Regions from separate parts of the Homo sapiens genome. Here region 2 is linked to region 1. The links are contacts of gene promoters, found by promoter capture Hi-C in blood cells and fetal thymus (Javierre and others, 2016). All regions are on one chromosome and are shown on one strand. Each heading gives the region's core, a stretch centred on a gene start or on the middle of the fragment in contact. The rest is flanking DNA. Distances are from core to core; before and after follow the strand shown.

What was found. The method cuts DNA at HindIII sites, captures the fragments that hold promoters and counts their contacts. A CHiCAGO score of 5 or more calls a contact.
Region 2: a fragment that was not itself captured here is called in contact with the fragment with the promoter of ELAPOR2 in region 1 in 2 of 17 cell types (activated CD4 T cells and non-activated CD4 T cells); the score reaches 5.2 in activated CD4 T cells.

Annotation. Positions count from the first base shown.
Region 1 is chr7:87,057,350-87,061,616 of GRCh38, forward strand. ELAPOR2 (endosome-lysosome associated apoptosis and autophagy regulator family member 2) reads right to left here and starts at 2,305. Exons shown (of 22, transcript NM_001142749.3): 1 at 1,976-2,305. The coding sequence starts at 2,164. RefSeq lists an enhancer at 1,267-1,767 and silencers at 2,033-2,102, 2,193-2,582. The HindIII fragment of the contact is 3,663 bases long and covers 488-4,150 here.
Region 2 is chr7:87,340,309-87,344,000 of GRCh38, forward strand. TP53TG1 (TP53 target 1) reads right to left here. Exons shown (of 3, transcript NR_015381.1): 2 at 1,215-1,376. Among named protein-coding and RNA genes, the nearest start is that of TP53TG1, 3.3 kb to the right of the region's middle. RefSeq lists an enhancer at 1,465-1,534. The HindIII fragment of the contact is 2,210 bases long and covers 146-2,355 here.

The DNA of each region.
Region 1 (4,267 bases), core at 1,055-3,554:
CAGATTCAACCCCTGGGAGGTCACTAGGCCTCTTCTACTTCCAAGAACTTCTAACTCCCATTAGTTCCTCTTACTTGTCAGTCATCAGGAAGAACATAAATGGATCTGTGCATTAACATTTATAAAAACATACAGCCAAAGGCAGGCTCAATAGCGTCCTCCTATATATTTTATTTATTCTCATTTTTCAGAAGGAAAATGTAAATTTCAGATCTCAACGGATGAGTCACATGCAATTTCTAAAGCCAATGCAGTAAGGACCTGTGATCAAGTGAACCCAGCCTTCCTGAACCTTCTGTCATCTCTCTGCCCCTCCTTTCAATCTTTGTTTTAGGTTGCAGACTCTTCTTTCTAGGTATACATGTGTAGGACATGTGTTCATCTAAAAGATTAGTCTAGTTGTAGAGACCAAAGGCATCACTTCTATTGACCCTGACCTTCGCCTACTTCAAGCAGATTTTCATTACTAAGAATCGATGTTATCAGAAGCTTAAGACTTTTCAGTTTAGAAAAATATATTCTGCATATTAGAAGTTGGGGGCTGGAGGATAAAGTTTATCTTGTCACAACTGTTCAATCTGAGATGTCCAAGAAGCAGCTTTCTGTGGAAACCTGGAATAATGGATTATTCCCAGGTGATATGTAAAGTTGTAGAATATAGATTAAGCTCATTATACTAAAAAGCCCTAAAATTAAACACAGCTGTTTGTTGAGCTCTTGCCCTGATTTCCCCAATTACAACATTGCTGTGTGTTCGCACACAAGCCTTTGATCCGATTCTCTTTCATTTCAGTCTGTCCTGGGACCTGTACTGTAGGAGAGAAAGACGAAAATCCATAGATGATGGATGATGTGTAGAACACAGATACTCTGTAATTCAAGTCTCGGTAAAATTCAGAAGTTAGAGCAACATACACAAACAAGAGGGTCTGGCCTTTCTTCCCAGAGGGGCTATTGGCTAACCTATTTTTGCTACATTAATTAAAACGACCCATCGCCCTGATTCCTAACAATCTTCCTAAAAACAGTATCTATTCCATATATCCTCCCAACACAATCAAAGTAGGTCAGAAATGTTGCTTCCTTCCCCTCATTGATTTTCATTAAGAGGATGCACTTTCTGAACACTAAATGGAAAGATAAACACCCAATACAAGAACCAATGACACCCCCTGTAAATTTTTGGCACACTGTCTCGTTCTTCTAAAAGCCAGATAAAAATCTCATCTCCCATAGTTTATCCTTTTTGGCTGTAAAACAACAATGATTACAAGCTATAAAATACACCGCGGCAATACTTCAGCCAGGTGATAAAGCACCTCCCAAAAGAAGCATATTCACTGTCTTTTCTAATTTTCTCCATCATCAACCTGCATCTTCTCTACCAAGTACATACTCCTTTTTTTTCCCCCCCAAATTCAAATCCACATTTTGTCAGAAGGATGCTAAGTGACACCATACATTGGCTTAGCAAACCCACAGGGCCTTAATCAGGAAGCTGAGGGCAGGGGAGTAGGACGAAGGCGTTTGCAGAGACAGGGGAGTGGAGACAGGGGGAGGAGGAGCGGGAAATCCTCTGGTGTCTGTGTCTGGCTCTCTGGAAAAGCTGTGATGAGATGGTTCTTCAAATCCCACTGGTGGGGCTTCCCCAGTCTCCTCCCCTTCCTGAAATCTTTCCCTCGACCCCAGGTCCTCAAACCTGGCTGTCCAAAAAGGACGCCGCAAAGTCCTGCAGAGCCCCCAAAAGACACAAGCGCGGACAGAAAAGCATCCCCCGAGAGACAGCGAAGCCACACACCCTCTCCGGGCCAGCTACCAGGGCGGGCAACTTCACCCCTCGAAGCAAACGAAAGCCCCTGTTCTCCAAGCAAAGGAAAAGGGGATGGCAAACAGAAATAAACAGGAACCGCTCTCAGCCTTCATCTTCCGCGCCCTCCCCCAGCAAACTCCAGGTAGAGGACCAGGTGCTGCTCACCTCCTGGCAAGGAGGAAGCGGGCGGCTGGAGGAGGAGGGCAGGTCCCCAGCCCAGGCCGCCTGGCAGCCGGCGAGCGCCCAGCAGCAAATCCAGGCGGGGCTCCAGGGCGGCGAGCGCCCGCGGCGGGGAGCCTCCGCCGGCCGCCCCCAGCCCCTGCCCCGTACCGGCCCCCGGGCGCGGAACAGCATCTTCGTCCGGCCGCGGTCGGCGGGCCGGCGGCAAGGCAGCCTTCCCGGGGTGCGGCGGCAGCTCCGGCTCCCGGGCCGCGACTGCTGTGCGCTCGTCTCGCCGCTCCGTCACCCGCTGCCCGTCCGCCCGCTGACAGCTCTGCTGCGCTCGCGGCCCGGGCAGCCAGCGCCGATGCTCCCGTCACGCCGGAGGGAGGGACCGCGGGGCGCGGGCGCGGCGCGGGGGCGGGACGCGGGGCGGGGACGCTGGAGCTGGGGAGCAGGTGGCGCGGGCGGGGGCTGCGGCCCAGCCCGGCGGGTCCCCAGGGGCTGCGCGGCGCTCGCCTCGCGCTAGAGGGCGAGAGAGGCTGGGGACCCCGTGGAGTAGCCTGTCTCAGGTCCCCGTGGCCCACTGGGAGGGGCGCTCCCGGGATGAAGCCAGAGTAAATACAGGACATCAGGACATTGTTTTCTGGCGGTGGGTCTTTAAAAAGCTCGCCACTTTCCTCATTGCACACAAACACGCAGATGTGCCCTCGGAACATCCCTTGTAAGGATCCATGCTGGCTAGCGTCAGATCGAATTTCTAGTTAGGGTGTGCATGAAATGGCGGGGAAGAAAGAGGACTGAGGTGTAGACGTGGTGTGTGACTCAGTTTTCTCACCTATTTAATGAAAATAATACCCACCACGTAGGATTATTATGAGGATTAAGTAAGTTGATGTACATAAAGCACTTGGAAGAGTGCCTGGCACACAGTAGGTGACATGTGTTGGTAGTAGTAGCCATAATTATTGCTGCTATTGGTGTTATTTTGTGGAGATGTGTAACATTGGGCATTAAGCCCTGTGTTTTCTGGAGGAAACAGTTTCTCCATCTGTGCGATGATTGAGGTGCTCTTCGTTTTTTCTTTCATTCAAAAACATACTGAACTAGGTGATGGTGAACAAGATGGACATAAGGCCTTCCTCAGTGGCAAGGATCTCAAGATCCCTTCTTGATCTCAGATTCTGTAAATGGGTGAGTTATTGTGTTTTTCAAAAGAAGCATCCAAATTTCTGATTATTGAATATCTGGACAAATCCACGTGGCCCACTCATTATAAGTTGGCCTGTGGCACATTTGTTTGTGGCATTATCTCTAATATCCTTTTAACAAAATTTCCACATGAAAGTCTCTGTATATGTGTGTTTGTGTGTATGTATACACATATAGATTTGTGTATCACACCTATATTCTGATTATAACAATATATGTTATTTGTAAACATTTTGGAAAATATTGAAAAGTATCAGGAAGAATATAAAAATAACTAGAGATCCTACCACCCAGAGATAACATTGTTAATGGTATTAACATGTTGAGGAATTTCCTTGCTTTTTTTTTTTTAACTCTGTGTGTACTGCAAAACTGGAATAATAATTTGTAACCTGCTTTTATTTTTATTCTTAATAACATAAATATTTTCTCAAGTCATTAAAGTCTCCAACAACACAACTTTAATAATTGTAAAATATTTTCTACTCTTTAGATACATGTAATTTACTATTAGATATTAGGCATTGTTTAAGGATTCAGTGTTATTAATAATTCTGGAAAGAATGCCCTTGGAACATAATCTGTGTGCATCTTTAAATATTTTATGATAACTTTCTAGAAGTGAAAACATTGGATCACATGATATGTGTATTTTTAAAGTTTTTGACGAATAGTGTACAAATTCCTTCCAAAAAATTTGTAGCAATTGTTACCAGCAGTTTATGAGTATTTATTTCACATCACCCTAGATTATAATACTTCAGATATTTATCATTTTGGTAGAAGAGACAAAAGCTATTATTTTTAAAATGTATTTTTATCATTGGTGACATCGAGTGATTTTTTATATATATCTACTAGCTATTTGCATTTTTCCTTCTCATGTCAGGGTGTGAGAATTTTTCACTGGCACACTTTAGCCATTTTATTGAAGTTCCATTTTTTATTGATTCGTTAGCAATCTTCATAAGCTTTGTGTATGTTTATCATATATCTTACAAATACTTTTTTGTAGTCTTTTAAATTTACTTCTGATAGCTTTTCTGGCAGAAGCTTGTCATCTTTAGGTATTCAAATGTAGCAACA
Region 2 (3,692 bases), core at 1-2,500, 280 kb after region 1:
GACTGAGAGCCCAGAAGAGGTACAGGAAACACCTCAGACATTCTCAAAACTTTATACAAAATATATTTGCCTCAAAAAGCAAGGAGATAATGCTGAATAAAAGTTGACACATTATTGTGTAAACACTAATATAACAATATCTTTAAGCTTCTTTAACAATCTTAGCGCTTCAACATTATTTTATTTTTATTGACCTAATAATAAGTCATTTGAAGTTTTGCATAAAGTTGCCAAGTTCCTATTTCTCAGGGAAAAACTTTCAGTAAGGAAGAGCCCTTAATTTCTTCTTTAGTACCTGCTTAAATTGAATGGTTCCTCAAACATTACTATTATTTTTGAGACTGAGTTTCACTCTGTCACCCAGGTGGGAGTGCAGTGGCATGATCATGGCTTGCTGCAGCCTTGACCTCCTAGGCTCAAGTGACCCTCCCACATCAGCCTTCCAAATAGCTGGGCTACTGGTGTGCACCACCATACCAGGCTAATTTTTAAAAAATTTTTTGCAGAGACAAGGTTTTGCCATGTTGCCCAGGCTGGTCTCGAATTCCTGGGCTCAAGCGATCCACCCACCTTGGGCTCCCAAAGTGCTGGGATTACAGGCATAAGCCACTGTGCCTGGCCTCAGAAATATTTTGTACGAAGTAATAAACATAACCATTAAGTGCATAATATTTAAAGTCATTCATAAAACTCACCCTCCTAAATATGGGAAAAGACACATCACACAATCACCTTGCTGTTGATTACATGGTCTGGGGTCTCTGCCTTCTCCCCTTGCAACAGCCCTCTAGCCATGGGGGCTTGTTAAGAGTAGATGTGAAGGTTTCAGGTCGCAGCCTGTGGGACTACTGCTTAGTGTGTGGGGTGCTTTGCCTGCACCCATGGTTTCTTTAAGTCTTAAATGATGCCCGCTCCAAGCCATCATCCTAACCCCCACTCCTCCACTCCCGCCCTTGGCCAAAGCATAGATTGTAACCCCCTGCTACTCTCTGAGATTGGCCTTTGATGAGGAATTCAGGGCTTTCCCCATATCTTCTCTCCCCCACCTTTATCAAGGGGCGCTGCTTTTTCTTCCCTCCTTCTCAAGTGTCTTTTCGCACCATCACCAACCAACACCTTCCAAGACACTTCCTTGCTTTGGCCAGAAGCCATCAGGTAAGGTTGGAAAGAGTCTCTGACCTCCCTTGTTTAGTTTTAGAATCTCATTTACTCACTCTCCGCCAGCCTGGGAAATGACTTTGGGTCCTCAGCCCTGCCACTCTCTGCTGTCATCATCAGCTGATGCATTGGTTTTAGCTCAGGTTTTGATAAGGTGAAGAGAATTGTTACCAGGGTTACTCAGACCTGCCAGCTCTCAGAGTCCTTGGTGGTTAAACCTGGAGAAAGAGCACATGAAGACACTTGAAAGCACATATGATCCCTCTGCATTGTTTCATTTTCTTGTAATTGCTTTCGCTTTTAAAAATTGAAGAAGTTTTAAGCAGGGCTCTCATTTGGTCATCCTTGCAATCCACTGGGGTCTAGTTTGGAATCTCACAACTGGAACAAAAAGAACCTTGGATCCAGTGCATGCCTTGGTTTTGGTGCTGCTCCTGCTTCTCAAGATCCTCAGCAGGGATTAAGAAAGAAATTGGGGTACACAGCAGATCCCTGAAATTGGCAGACTTGACCTCCTGGAAAAATTGCTGTGTTTTTCACTTTCTGTTCAGGACCACTACTAAATGCTGAAATGTGGATGCATACCAAACTAAAAGTGATTCGTTGTGTACTAAAGTTTTTTAAAATTATTTGTGTAAAATCATCTTTTGAAGCAGAATCAAGTCTGAAAAGCAACTGATGTTTCCATTAATCTTTTTCTGGGGAAAACCTCAGTTCTAAGGATTTAGCATCCTGTAAGTGAAGTTTAACATAACAGTATTCCATAAGCAGCCTTTTTATGGTCAGACCATTGCCTAATTTTAATATAATTTTAAAATGTGTGCATTAATTAAAAAATGGGAAAAGGATCTTAATAAACATTTCTCCAAAGAGGATATATAAATGGCCAATAAGCACATGAAAAAATACTCAACACTCTTAGTCTTCACAAAAAAATGTAAATCAAAACCACAAGACACCACTTCACATTCATTAGAGTGGCTGTATTTTTTTTAAAAGACAATAGCAAGGGCTGTTATATTGTTATTGTAACTAAAGGCACAGAGAAATTGAAACTCATATTGCTGGCAGATATGTAAAAACGGTACAGTTCCTTTGGAAATCAGTTTGACGGTTTTTGAAAATGTTAAACATAGAGTTAACATACGACCCCACAACTCCACTCCTAAAATACTAATTGAAAGCCTGTTCACACAAAGCTTGTACACAAATGTTTATAGTACCATTATTTAAATAGACAAAAGGTAGAAACAACCCAAATGTCCATGAACTGATGAATGGACAAACAAAAAGTGGTTCATACATTCATCAGTCAGTTGATGAATCATGTTTAATGCCTGTTGGTAACACAGAATTTAGAGCCACTTTGCTTCACTCTTTTCCCAGTCTTGTTATTTATTTCAATGGAAACAAAATGTTCCTGTAAAGATGCCTGGATTTTTGGATATAGAAAAAGTTGTGGGACTGAAAAAAATGAGTGGAACAGAGATTTGAGTATGTAGAAAATAATCTTTTTAAATATTTGAACCAAATGTTCTAAAATTAGCTTATGGTGACTGCATAACCCTGTGAATATAGTAAAACCATTGATTTGTGGACTTTAAATGGCCGAACTTTATGGTATGTAAATTATATTTCAACAAAGATGTTAACAAAATTTTTAAATGTTATATTTTGTTTAGTAAGAAGGTATTTTTTTCTGAGATGCAAAAACATCATAGTTATCTTAACTCTTCCCCTCAGATTTTGGTGGCAACTTTTCATGTACTGTAAATATCATCAAAAGCAACCCCAAATCAATGATTAGTACTAAAAAGAGACCTTTTGTATCAAACACTGTTCATCTGCTGTTGGCAGTGGAGTTCATTTTTAATGCTACATTGCCCTCTTTGCGTCCAGTGTACTTTAATTTGCTGTTGGCTGCTTCCCAAAATGACCATATTTCTACTGCCCCCCCATTAAAAAGAAGAAACATCACAAAATTATTTCTTCAACATGTTCATTTTATACATCAGAATGAAAGGAGGTTACAGGTCTCCCATAGATTAGGGCTATTTACCATATCTCCTTACTTATTAGAGTCACAAATCTTAGCAGGAAGCCAGTTATGCAGATTGAAACATGAACTTCTTAGTCTAGCATTTTAATACTTTTTAATGGTGAAATTTATCTAGACTTATCTATAAAGTCTTTTGCAATTTGTGGTATGCTGAGTAAGAACTACAGAAGAACAAAAATAAAAGATTTTTTTAATGGCAACTTAAAAAATTATCACCACTTGTACTACTTACAAATTTTCCTCCAAAAAGTTACTTTGACTCATAGTCAATTTTTAATCTTGGAACAACTTCTTGCTATCACAAATACTTCAAGTGCCTAAAACATCTTCCTTACCAGCCAATATCTCCCGCTCCACTCTAAGAAATGCAAACTCGTTCAAGTTTAACCTGAATGCAACATAATTTGGAATCTTTCATTAAAATATATATCACACATTTTGAAGCCAAACATATTTTAAAATACCTGTTTTTGGT